Linked DNA regions of Homo sapiens: all the other regions are linked to region 1. Evidence: promoter capture Hi-C in 16 types of primary human blood cells and fetal thymus (Javierre and others, 2016). All regions are on one chromosome and are shown on one strand. The core of a region is centred on a gene start or on the middle of the fragment in contact, and the rest is flanking DNA. Distances in the headings are between cores, read along the strand shown. Region 1 holds the start of GPR151 (G protein-coupled receptor 151). Region 2 overlaps STK32A-AS1 (STK32A antisense RNA 1). Region 3 has its middle 76 kb from the start of STK32A-AS1. Region 4 overlaps STK32A-AS1 (STK32A antisense RNA 1).

Region 1 (3,297 bases), core at 644-3,143:
TGAACATTATGATACGGACTTTTCATCAAGTAAATTAACACTTATTAAGTAAATGAAGAACGCATTAAAATTTATCATTAATGTGTTAAAAATCTCAAGTGAAAGTAGATTTTGAGCTTTGGTTATGTGAAATACAATTTAGTAGGTAAAATTAGGACTAGCAGGTCCTGGGTGAAACTGAAGGTAAAGGGGCTCAGCTTTGACAGAACCTCTACTGCAGGCTCCAGCCGGTCCACTACAGGGCTGGTCCTAGGGGGTACCCAGTAAAACCACTGTGAACAAATGACAGAATAGCCAGGCTGTCTAATCACTTTGACAGCAACATCTTTACACAACACTTAAATTGTTTGGGAAGCCAAGTTCTAATTCTGAAACAATTATTACTTCTAACATGGTTCTCTACTTACCACATTGCACATTTGGAAAGTGTAGATTGTGAAATATTTTTATAATTCCTAATGGTAATAATTATATCAGTTTGTAAAGTCAGCAATATTGATAAGCAGCAGTACAAGTAAATACAATAATCACAGTTTGTTTTGCTTTGAAACTTAAATCTATTTAACACCTTCCCCTGTCTCTTGATCTTCATGTTCCCAGGGGATAGGGTCATTGTCCTGTACAGAAGGGACTGTGTCCCTCTCATGCCAAAACTGCTCTACGTCAGGAAGGATGGGAATCTCTGCCTTCTCAGTTTTCCCTTTGCCAGAGGAGGGAGAGCTGGGTTTCTCTTTTTCTGGTATGGATGCTGGGGATTCTGGAGATGGAACCTTGTCAGGAAGACCCTCTGAGTTGCCAGCTGGTGTTTCCTGAGACTCTGAGACAGTTGGAGGTTTTTTGGTTATCATCCATTTCCATACACCTTTCAAGCCTTCCCTGAACTCTTCCGACATCACAAGAAAAATGAGAGGATTTGCTGAAGAGATGGAAAACATCAAGACTTGAGACAGGGCTATGAAACCTTGTGGTGGGGCCGGGCCTGCAGCCTTCAGATGCCATACCCACAGCCAAGCTACCCATTCGGGGAGCCACAAGAGAGCAGAGATGATGGCAATGCTCAGCAGCATCACTGTGACTTGCTTTGAGCGTATCTGGTTTCTAAGATTTTGAGTCTTAGTTCCTCGTTTTTTACATTGGTCATAAGCTCTCCAGAAATAAAAGCTGGCAAAAAATAATGGAAGGCCAAATGCCAGGAGTGGGTAGAGCTTACCAAACATCGACATAAACTCTTCAGCCACAGCTGGTACATCCACGAGGCACATTTCCACACCTTCATGATGCCTGATGGTGCTAAAGAACCATTCCGGCAGGGGTAACAGGCTAGCCACAGTCCAGATGGCCACCAGCACTGACCAGATGGTGTAGTTGTGGATACTCACTTGCTTGGCTGGGTCACTTGCATACATGAAGCATACTTTGGCCACCACAACGATTGTCAGGCTCTTGGCTGCCATGCATGTGTGGATAAACCAGTCAGAGGACTTGCAGACAAACCAGCCTAGATCCCAAACACTTTTGGAGTACGCCGTAGCTCGGATAGGTGCAGAAAACAGCAGGAGGGAGAGATCAGCCAGGCTGAGATTCAGAATCAGGGAGTGGATCATGGATGGCTTTCCTTTCCAAGCATTGTGAAGGAGGATGCCAATCACACACAGGTTTCCCACGAAGCCCACCAGGCAGACAGCCACCAAGAGAGCCGGGATGATGGTTCTCCAGTCCTGGGAATCAGAGGGCAGGTACCCTCCGGCAAAGTGGAGGTGAGCAAAGGACACATTCATGCTGCTGGAGTTAGAGTCTGCAAAGGCAGCTGCCAGCATCACTCTTCACAGCTTCTTACAGAAGTTAGATTCTTATTTAGGTTTGTCTTTCTGCCTGGGCTCTTTTGCATAGGAAATAAGTACTCTGTCGTCAGTGTCAAATGACACTTCTGGATCCTCCCCTTGCTTATTTCCTGAGAGCAGAATGTGGAAGGAGGCTGGCTGTTAAGCTCTTCTCTGCTGCATACAATATACTTGTGACTGTACCGACTGTCAGATAGCAGGAGCACATGGCTGCTGCTCATTAGCAAGTCTAATACCAAATCGTCAGCCCTGTGGAGTAATACAAATATACCCATAAATGATGAATGAAGAGAACATACATGTAAGTGGCATGTGTTCCTTGGGGGGTCACTAGAGCCAGTCAAGGCAATTATTTTCAACCAGCTCTTCCTAAAATCTTGACTGCTGTCTGTAATTTAGTGAACACTACATCTGAACCAAGTTCTTTGAACTTCACCTGATGGCCGGATCCAGTGGGTCTGGAGTAGGGCCCAAGAAATCATTTCTAACAAGTTCCCATGAGACTCTGATGCTGCAGGTTGGGAGACCACACTTTGAGAACCACTGTTTTAAACTGAGAACTAAAGCTTCCCCTACCCACTCTGCAGAGATGAGCTTCCTCTTCTTTTCCCCAACCCTTACAACCACCTCAGTTCCATCAACAGCTGGCTGAGTTCAAACACAGCTGGATAATGAAAACAAGTTAGAAGTCCTATTAAAAAAATCTAATTATGGATGACTCTCAGTTTATTCTATTACGAGTTTTTAGAAGCAATTTTACAGCTCCAAATTAGAACTGCTTTACATACTAATAAGACTTTTCAACAAGTGATGGTGATGAAGGCAACTGCATGATGAATTAAGCTGCTTTTCAGAGAGCATTCCTAGAGGATTTACCAAGACAAGAGAAATGAAAGAAAAATCAATATCTATGTGGAAGGCATTTAAGAGATTTTTTTAAATTATATTTTAAAGTTGGTAAAGATTTTGTGCTGGGCACACTGGCTCATGCCTGTAATCCCAGAATTTGGGGAGGTGGAGGCGGGAGGATTGCTTAAGGCCAGAAGTTCGAGACCAGCCTGGGCAACAAAGTGAGACCCCTGCCCCCACCTCTACCAAACAAACAAGAAAAAAAAAAAAAAGAAAAAAAAAAAAGTCAGCCATGATGGTGTACACCTGTAGTCCTAGCTACTTAAGAGACTGAGGTGAGAGGGTTGCTTAAGCCCAGGAGTTCGAGGTTGCAGTGAGCTATGACTGTGCTGCTGCACTCCAACCTGAGTGACAGAGTGATCCTCTGTCTCTAGAAATAAAAAAATTCTCAGATAAGATGATTTGGTAGAACTAGCCCTGAAATTTTAAAATAAGCAATGGATACTCTGGGGGGATTAGAGGAGCTCAAAATGTTCAGAGAATGGGGTTTGTGGGGTTGATATGAAGATACATGCTACATTGAGTGTGGCTAGTCAGAAAAGCTAAA
Region 2 (3,259 bases), core at 574-3,073, 700 kb after region 1:
GACTTTCATCCCATGAGACTCAGATTGGACTTCATAGTCCTATCCCAACACAATCCTCCAGGCAACCACTACCAGCTGACCAGGACAGATGCTCTGACATGCCATATGACATTTTTTAAACCACTTAGGTCCTTTATTTTTGAGCTTCAGTCACCTTTATGGCTAAAAAAAAAAAAAAAAAAAAAATACATTAGATGAGATACTCTCCAGACCTTTTTCTGAAATTCTGTGATTTTATTATCTTTTATAGCAGAGATCAACAAACCAAGGCCTGCTGATCAAATCTATGCTGCCATCAGTTTTTGTATAGCCTTGGAGCTAAAAATGAATTTTACATTTTTAAAACATTGGAAAAATCCAAAGAATACTATTTCATGACATAGAAATATAAAGTTAAAATTTGAGTGTCCATAAATAATACTTTATTGGAAAACAGTCATGCTCATTTACTTTCATTTTCTCTATGGCTATTTTCCCACTATAATGGCAGAGTTAAGTAGTTGTATCAGACACCATATGTCCCGGAAACCTAAAATATTTACTAATTGATTCTTTACAGAAAAAGTTGAAACCAGAGTATGGTGAGAAAATTGTGGATTGAATGCCAGGTCAAAAGAAATGTTGTTTAACACAGAGGTTTAAGGATTATGAGGCAAAAGCAAGTGAAATAACATGAATATTTGTCAAAAAGTCATCCAATGGTACCCTTCTAAAATGTGAATTTCATTATAACATTTTTATTATTTTGTTATAAAATGTTTTATAAGAAAGAAGTTCCAAACATAAAAATAAAAAGGAACCAGGCCTTTACGGGGGACCATAAAGATAATCTGACATAAATGTTACAGGTTTCATGTTAGAGCTACTGTGAAATGTAAATTCAACATGAAATTTGTCAGTATTTCATAACCCAGTTAAGATGTAAATTCAACAAATACTCTGCTTGGGAAAGATGCATTGTGTTCTATTTTTCAAATTGTTCAGTTTACTGATTAAAGTATTTTTACATTTACAAAAACAACTAACGTAACTTCCATACTCTTCTATTTCATAAGCTGAAATAAGTCCCTGCTTCCCTCACAGGGATGGTAGAAAGAATCTTTAGGAAAAATGCTCTAAGTCAAAGTATAATTTTTGATATTTATGTTTAATATTAGGATAATAATTCTTTTTTAAATAGCTTAATCATATGCTTACTCATGCTTTTACAAGTCTTTGATTCAACAAATAATGCAAACTTAATCACTGTGCTTCTGATTAAGTCTGATATATGCAAAATGGAAATTGCTTATTTAATATCAACTGTCAATATGAGTTCACATTTAACTAGGTTGGAACCTATTTACATTCTAAAACCTTTTCAAACCTTTTCTTGTGTTCGAAAGTTTTGGAGCTGTTAATAACTCCATATATATAAAGAAACATAGTTATCATTAGTTGATACATAATTTGCAATTTCTCTAACTCTCATTAATATTTGGGTAACTTTCAGTTCCTATTACTGGAAAAAAACAACTAAGCGAGAAGAAAACAACAATTGAGCAGGAGAATAAACATATTAAGTGTTTAGAAAGAAGAAAATATTAAAATCACATAATTAATTAAGATAAACAATGTCTTCTGCAGAAAAGTTCATCTAACTTTCTATGGTTGGAAGAAAGATGGCTTTCAATAATGATAGAAGTTGGAAATAGACCACATTTACAGAATGCCTAAAACACAAATAAAAATAGGAAAATCGAGTTAATAATTCAGACATTTTTCAAACTCCTAATTAGTTGCATATGGATAGCTTGGATGGTGAAAGTCACATAAAAACGTCTATTATAGAATCTAGATTACCAATGTGTTGCATAATTTAAATAAGGCCACAAGTGGTAAACTTGCTTGAGTTAATTAGATCTACTCTAATATACAATAGAGCATCCAAAACAATTCAAAAATAGAGAAATTTCTGGAATAATTCTAATATAACATACCCTAATGGTGTCAGATTAACCCAGGTTTCAGTATGGTCCTCAATACCATCTCCTACGTTTCTTAATCGTACAATTTAACCTTGGTGAACTCTACATTCTGCATTAGTATATGGGATAAATTATTTACTTCATAGGTTTCTGTGCGGATTAAATTCACATAGTAGACAAGCAATAAATATTTGTAATAGTCCCATAATTTTGTAGTTTTGTTTAGAGACTGCAAAAGAATGTCAATGCATATTAATTATGAAAAAAGTAAGATCTGCATACTTTTTATACTTAAAAATAAGTTATAAATTTTCTAATATACTGGATGTAAATAGACACATATTGTAGTTCATATTATTTAAAATCGTAGTTTCATATGTACACTCTGTTAAATGCTGTGCCTTCATTGACATGTTCTTTCTTGTTGCCTGGACTATCCAGATCCATGGAAATTTTATAACTGTCATTGTGTTTTTATTTTAGCGATAAAGACGCATCTTTGTTTAACAAGAACTGGAAGTAAAACTTTGTCCCAAAAAGCAGGTACTTTCAAAGTTGGGGAAAAATACAGCAATAAGTAAAGCACTTGTTTCATATCTGTTGAAGAAATGATCCGATTATTGTGTATGGGAAGAAAGTCAGGAATTGAAAGCAAAATGCCAGACATCTAAGTGTATGTTCACCTGAAATCTTTAGGACCATAAGCAGTACTCATATTCCAATAAACTAGAAATGTTAGCTGTTTGAACCATAGAAGTAACCATTTGCACGGGAAAAACAGGGACTCTGATTTAGGGGCACCACAGTTCAAATGCCAGTTTAGATTTGTTAACTTCAATAAATTACAATTTACCTGAGTCTCAGTTTTATTACCTTTAAAGTATGGACAATAATAGCTACCTGGAATTACAGCTGTTTCAGGATTCAGTTAGTACATGTAAAGTGTTTTTTAAAGAAATGAATTTATTATTACTACACAACCATTCCCTTTCATCAGTGGAGAAAGTTTCAAATGGATTACAAATGCTATATTCTTGTCACTAAGCATTCCTCAACTATCAGTGCAACGGCAAATTTAACAAAACAAACCAGCCAACTGTTTTCAAGTATAAGGAAAGGAAAGGGGAAACCATCCCAACAACTTGAGCATAACATGTCCAGGTAGGAAAATGCAGGTCCCTTCAAAATAATCTCCCCTATGTTCCAGATATTCAACAGTTGATCTAAGAAACACAAAGTCTTACTATTCTGTGTCCCAGTTCTTTAAGACTTTGAGAAACAAAAGAACCCCA
Region 3 (3,449 bases), core at 712-3,211, 640 kb after region 1:
ATCCTTCTTAGAATCACAGGGTTGTGAGGAGCACTTGAGGTCCTCCTTCTCTGCATCACCATCAGAGCCTCTCCACTGAATGGGAAGGCTGCAGTATTTGGAGGAAGCCCAGCTGTTTGAGGGAATAGCAATAGCTAACCCTTCACAGCTTAGAAACATTGTCTTATTTGGACAGAAGTCTTGTGAGAAAGGGAAGTGGGTGGCTTATCCAATGTAGGATGAAGAAACTGAAACTCAGACAAGGTATCCACTTGATCAAAGTTAATTCATTGGTAAGTAGAACAGCCAGGAATTGAGCCTGAGAATTTAAACTCCAAGATCCCAGCATTCCATAGTAAGAAACTGTGGATCCCCATCTGTTCCCACACTATGCTCAAAGATCCTGTGTCCCGAGCAGAACAGTAATTCGTAATAACCAGCATTCATTGCTCCTAGCATTACCAGATACTGTAACTCAGGCACTGTTCTCAGCACATTACATGTTAACACATTTCATCACAGCAATGCTGTGAGGCAGGCACTACTTTTATTCCCAATTCAGAGATGAATGAAGCACATAGATTTTGAAGTAGCTTGCCAGAGTTTACCCAGCTACCAAGGGAGGCTGTAGGTAATCAGGGAATCATTAAGTCCCTTTCTCCCACTCATGAGAGAGTGTCTGGGAGGTTGGGGTTTAGGAAGAGCCCCTCCATCTTTAGCTCACCAAAATGTGCCTAGGGAATCCAAAGAGGTCTGACTATGTTTGAGGATGGAAATTGGCCAGCGTCTGTCATCTCAGGTTTGCAGCTGCCAACACCAAAGGGATATATTCCCTTTCCTTTGTGGAGTCATGCATCATGACCTCCTTCTCTATTTCCAGCAGCTGCACCCTTTCATTTTGCCAAAAGTTTTCTCACTGATTAAGGCAGGTCTGAGAGAAGAGTTGGCCTGGGATTTCCAGGAGCCTCTTCTGTCACTGGCTCCTCTGAGTGAGGATTAGATAGCAAAGGTAGGGCAAGGAGAAGGTAGGGCCATTAGAAAACCCATTTGGTTTTCAAACACCTACCATGTGACAAACACTGAAATTAGCCCATTCACTCATTCAAAATGAGTTTACTGGGCACCTATTATGTGCCAACCTGGCTGTTCAATATTAATTAATTTTAAAATACCATTGGTCATCTATAAATATGAAGCCTGATAATAGGCATTATGCGTGAGTGATGATGGTTATGATAAAATTAATATTTATTAAAAACTTACCAGTGTTCTAAGGATATGCCATTTAATGATTTAATCATCATGACTGTAAGATTACTACTATTACTGTTTCTATTTTATAGACCATAAAACATATGGCTAGAAGTTTAATAAATTAGCCAATATCACACAAGGGGTAATTTGTAGAGCCTGGATATAAAAATGACTAGAACTCAGTCCCAGCCTTAGGGGAGGCTCAGTCATTGTAACCTATTCACCCCTCACAACAACCCAGTGAGATAAGCAGTACCATTACTTGCATCATGGATTATGCCTGTTTGATTTTTACAATTTCAATTTTAAGTTCTTAGTGGGAGAACCACACATGAAATACCCATTTTTCATAGAACATGACCTCTAATGGCAAAGCAATTTTTCAGCAGATATTCGATGAAATAAGGACCTTTTCCAATGCTTAGGTTTACATAAAATCATACCCAATATACTTTAAATGTGATTCAATTTCATTTAACTAATGAGAAACTGAGGCTTAGGAAGCTTAAGTGACCTTCTGAGGCCCCATTGCTAGTAAGTGGCAAACCCAGTTTGTGCTCTTCTACCAAAGCACACTTGCAAATAGACCTGTGGAAAACTTAGTTTGTAAGGTGTCTGGAATGCTAATTGATTATATCTTTCTGGGGAAGACAACTCTTTATTCTCAACAGGCTCGATATGAGTTTTAGAGATTTCTGATCAACTCTGAGAAACTGTCAAAGCCAAACCCTGGTTTTGGTTTTCTGTGCAAACATTGACAAAAGATGTATGTATTTGCTGGGCGATAGACATTTAGGATCTAGCCCAGGTGCTGGTTTGGATGCCTGAAGTAGAACACTCTAAGCATAATGGAGAAATCCTGCATTTGTACAATAGCATCCTTGCAAAGTATGAGGAAATTAATGTGTTCTTACAAATATGTTCTAAAACGGCAAATTATTGAGGAAGTTGGGAAGCTTCAGAGATGTTCTCAAGAGAGCTGTCATTGCAGGAAATACTCATAACCCACTCTTTGGTGCCTTAACTGAAGACAAAATTTTTGCATGGATAAACTTTTCTCCTGGGGCATGACTGGCATTCTGAGCACAGACATGCATGTGTGAACTTGAGATACTGGACAAATCTTTTTAGCTCTCTGGTCCCCAGTTTCCCTGTTTATTAAATGGGAAAATATAGAAAGAAATCTTTCTGTAACATTTTCTGGGATCATGGACTCAGGAAACTTTGCAAATCTAAAAAAATTTCAGAATCTTCTCTCCCAAAATGTGTAAATTTTTGTTTCATAAGTACACAGGCCCCTGAAGCCCAGTAACGTTTCCCCTAGATGTCTATGAATCCCAAGTGTAGTCTATTTCTAAATTCAGTTTTAGGGGAAATATGTATTATTTCTAACAATCAAAGTTTTGGATTTCTTGTATGCCTGGGCAGCCATCCATTCCTGCTCCTCCACTACCAAGTGACTTAGCAGCTTATGTCAAAGTTCTAAGGGAAGTCTTTCAGATTAATAGATGTGTGCCCAAGACTAACAAAGAGATCAGCTCCTTCAGAACTTCCCTTCAATATTTAACTTTGTGAAAAAATAATCCTTTTAGTGGGAAGAGCTGCTCTACCAGGCTCGAAGAGGGTATAAGATTACCAGCCTAATAACTTTCAGGAGTAATATGCTCCTTGATGTCAACTATTTGTTGCTGGGAGAACATAAATAACTATTTTGATGCTCTTCATTAAAGAAGCAGTTATCTGGGCTTTTTATTCAGTCAACTAATATGGCTTGAGTAATCATTATATGCAAGTATTTGGGAAATACAAAGATGATTCATTAAATGACCTTTTCTTTAAACATATTACAAATGTTTTACTGGCCTTACTAATTCCAAAATATGTTTTTGCAAGTATTATTTTGCCCTTGTTTTTCACATTGCCCTATTTCCATGTATATTTCATGTATGTAGAGATATGTGTGCATGTACATATTCATGTGTTTGTGAGTTCATATTCCTTGCAAATTTATCTGCAGGAATTTGGGGAGGGTTTGACTTGAGGTTGCATTCCTTTAGAGAAAAACTGCGTTTCCTCTCTGGGTATATTACCTGTATAGTACTATAGTATAGTACTGATTTAGGAGATCTCTTTTATCAAATTCTTCTTTGGAGATGTTTTATACATTACAAGAAATATAAATTTGGCCACAAACCCACATAAGGACTAACTTGGAG
Region 4 (3,461 bases), core at 825-3,324, 660 kb after region 1:
ACTGATCATTCTTGCAGGAGTTTCTCATTCGTAACTGCGTCATTAAATAAAAGCTTGCTGAAGAGGATGGGAAGAGTTACAGGCTATGAGCATTAACTGTGCAGATTCCATGTGACAAGCAACAGGCTAAGCACATTCATGCCATTATTTAACACAACAATCTTATGGTGCAATTTGTTACTGCTCCCATTTCACAGTTGAGATCATTGTGGCTCAAAGATGGTAAAAGACATAAAATATATTACTAGAAAGGAGCAGATATTTAAGTGTATATAAAATATGTTAAAGTATTTTAACAATGGTGAAGAATGAGACCAAGAAATTTTAACTGGATATATGATAAGCAGCATTCGCCACTCAGCTTGCCACTTCGCCTTCTCTGGTCCTCTTTTTCATAAAGTTGATAACCTTCTCTTCATACTTGCCTTGATTTAAACCAAGTTTTCCTGTTAACTTTTCTTCCTAATGAGCACTTTGCCACCCTTACTACTTGCCTTTCTCTTCCACTGTGCAAAAACTCCCAGACTTTGTTGTTTGTATTGAAAAGCCACACCCTTTTGATCTTTAGAACCAATCCATAGTCCATCTTGGGAAATAGATTTCACCTCCCTTCATGTTTCTGCATCTGTAATCAGCTTCTGAAGTCAGAATGCAGAAAGGCTGGAACAAAATCGTCTGTACTTTTCACAAATGCTGATAAGTCAGCCAAGAAAACCTGAATAGTACAAATGCCCTGCTGCAGAGGTTTTGTTTGGTAGCAAGTCAGACACAGCAAGGAGACCAAAAGAAAGCATTAATAATTTTGCCTTCCTCCTGATGTGCTGAACAACAAGCAGCCCCATGTGCTATGATTTCTTGGGAATGCAGTGCACATGGCGGCCTCAACACAGTGAGTGGCCTGATACAATTCAAAGAATGAAAGTCTTGGAGCCTAAAGACCTGATTGGTTCTGCTCTTACTAGGTACACAACCTTGGGCAGGTTGTTTAACTTCTGAGTCATCAGACATAAACTGGAGCTAATATTCTCTTTAGTGATACATAGTCCAGCTTGTATATAAGCCATCCATCTAAAAGTCATCCTTGCTTCTTCTCTCTTCCTTATCCCAACACCACCCAACCTGTCTGAATTGTGTTGATTCCATGATTTAAATATTTCTCAAATTGCATATCCAATCCCACCAGCTATATTAGTTGGCATCATAATGTCCTAAACTAACACTATATACTCCTAGTCCATTTCCCTGTTCCTAACACCAAAATATCCCTTCTCAGTGCATTCAGGTGTCTTGCTAAAGTGTACATCTCATCATCCTGCTCCTGATTAAAATATAGTTCTCATTCTTTACAGAATAAAGTAAAACTTTACCATCACAGGGCACAAAGCCCTCCATGACCTGATCTTACCTGTCTGTATTAGGAATCTTTCAGATGCAAGTGACACCTCTGAAATAGCTTAATCAAAAAGGAGTACGTATTAACTTACGAAACTAAAACAGCCTGCCGAAGTTCCAGGCAAAACTGGGTCCAAAGCTTAGTCTCATCAGGAAGCTGTCTCTCACCCTCCTTTGCTTGGCTTTCCTCCAGAGTAACTTTATTCCTTATTAGGTTCTTCCTGCTTCATAATAAATTGGCCCCCAGCAGTTTCAGGCCTACCTAGCATCTATTTAGCAATCCCTCTTTACTCCAGCCTGCCCCGAGAGTGACTTTTTCTCACTAATTTTAACAAAAGTCACAAGGCAGAATCTCAGTGGTCTGTCCTGGATTATTTGCTCAACTCTTTACAAACACCGTACCGTAGTGGGGATATGATGGTTAGGCAGGCACATCCAGGAGGCACCTGAACTACATGACTTAAGATCAGGGTTACCCCCGACCCACCCACACACATAAATCAGACTGCTATCACCAAAATAAGAGAAAATGAATGGTAGCCTAGGAAAATGACACCTACCCAAAGGAACTTCTCCCCTACTCGAGGTTCCAGAGTTTAGTGGCTCAAAACAACCATTTTATTTTGTGCATGGCTTTTTGGAGATCAAGAATTTAGAAAGGGTTCAGCTGTGCAGTTCTTGGTTGGAGGCTCTTCTGTGGTTGCAGTGAGACAGATGTCAGTTGGGGCTGGCGACTCGTGGAGGCTCCATGGAGCTGAGTGTCCAAGATGGCTTCCTCATGAGAACAATTGTTGCAGCCAGGATGGAGCTCAGCTGGGCTGGGAACTGAATGCCTACACGTGGCTTCCCCAGCATGAGAAGCTCAGGGTGCATGGACTTCTTAGTCAATAGCTCTGAGGTCCAAGCACTGCATTTCAGCGCAAAGGGGGAAGCTGCATCACCTTTTCTGGACCTAGCCTCAGAAGCCATGCAGTGTCACTTTTCTGCATTCTGTTGATCACAGGGATTCTCAGAGTCAAGGACGGGGACACAGACTGCACCTCTGAACAAGAGAAATGTCAAGTAATTTGCAGCCACAATCATTTTCTATTGTTCTTCGAATATGTTCCCATCACTTCAACATTTTTTTTTTTTTGCCTTTAGGAATGTGCTTCTCTGTCTGGAATGTCCTTTTTTTCTTCTATCTCCCAAGCATTACTCACCCTATGAGACACACACCCCCTGCAAAGCTTCCCTCTCCCCACCACATAGTAGCATTGGTCCCTTTCTCTGCAACACCACATTCCAAAAGTACCTTTATAATTATAAAACTTTGTGCCTCTGTCTCTATCAGCAGGCTATGAACTCCTTGAAGGCAAAAACCAAGTCTTACCTCCCTGCTTCACACATTAACCGTCTCTTATAGGCTAATTGTGTCATGTTTGCCTCATGGCAGATTTAGATTATACAGCCAAAGAGTTTCCAAATGTTGAAGTGTTATTCAAACAAAGGTCGTCATTATCCATAAGTAAGCCTTTTACTGAAAGAATGTAATAACTTCTCGTGATAGCTTTGCACCTGACAAATTCTAAATGGATACTCCATTTAACTGTTTAAAAAAAAGTTTAAGATTTTTTTTTTTACTTTCTTTCTCTGGCTTAAATAAGAGTGACGTCTAGTTGTTTGTTCTTTATCTGTTATTTAGATCACTGTTCCCCAGGTTTTATCAACCAGTCGCCTCTCCACAAGCCTATTGTATCAGGTCAATCCTTCTCTACTTTCTTCATAGTTTTGTACCTAACTCTTTGTAACACCTGATTTTCGTGGATCTAATTCTCCTATACACCTGTGTGTGTGTATCCCACATGCACATATGTTTTCTAAATGCCAATAAATAAGTAGTAATACATTTGAAACATTGTTATATGAAACACATACAAGAAATTTGAACAGAAAAAGCACAAATGAAATGTGTTCAATCTCACCAGTAGTCTTAAAAGTGATCATGAATACTGCAACCAAAAACATTTCACACTTGTATGATAGGCAGAAATATTTAAAAGACTTAGAATTTGAAGAAATAAGATATT

The links. The method cuts DNA at HindIII sites, captures the fragments that hold promoters and counts their contacts. A CHiCAGO score of 5 or more calls a contact.
Region 2: a contact is called between a fragment that was not itself captured here and the fragment with the promoter of GPR151 in region 1, in 1 of 17 cell types (total CD8 T cells). The highest score is 5.1, in total CD8 T cells.
Region 3: a contact is called between a fragment that was not itself captured here and the fragment with the promoter of GPR151 in region 1, in 1 of 17 cell types (total CD4 T cells). The highest score is 5.2, in total CD4 T cells.
Region 4: a fragment that was not itself captured here is called in contact with the fragment with the promoter of GPR151 in region 1 in 1 of 17 cell types (M2 macrophages); the score reaches 5.6 in M2 macrophages.

Annotation. Positions count from the first base shown.
Region 1 is chr5:146,514,297-146,517,593 of GRCh38, forward strand. GPR151 (G protein-coupled receptor 151) reads right to left here and starts at 1,894. Exons shown (of 1, transcript NM_194251.3): 1 at 1-1,894. The coding sequence starts at 1,817. The coding sequence ends at 558. The HindIII fragment of the contact is 3,538 bases long and covers 1-2,405 here.
Region 2 is chr5:147,210,116-147,213,374 of GRCh38, forward strand. The region is part of intron 1 of STK32A-AS1 (STK32A antisense RNA 1); the gene reads right to left. Among named protein-coding and RNA genes, the nearest start is that of STK32A-AS1, 23 kb to the right of the region's middle. The HindIII fragment of the contact is 6,668 bases long and covers 1-3,259 here.
Region 3 is chr5:147,157,030-147,160,478 of GRCh38, forward strand. No RefSeq gene overlaps it. Among named protein-coding and RNA genes, the nearest start is that of STK32A-AS1, 76 kb to the right of the region's middle. The HindIII fragment of the contact is 452 bases long and covers 1,736-2,187 here.
Region 4 is chr5:147,175,056-147,178,516 of GRCh38, forward strand. It overlaps STK32A-AS1 (STK32A antisense RNA 1), which reads right to left. Exons shown (of 4, transcript NR_147190.1): 4 at 1,980-2,434. Among named protein-coding and RNA genes, the nearest start is that of STK32A-AS1, 58 kb to the right of the region's middle. The HindIII fragment of the contact is 1,090 bases long and covers 1,530-2,619 here.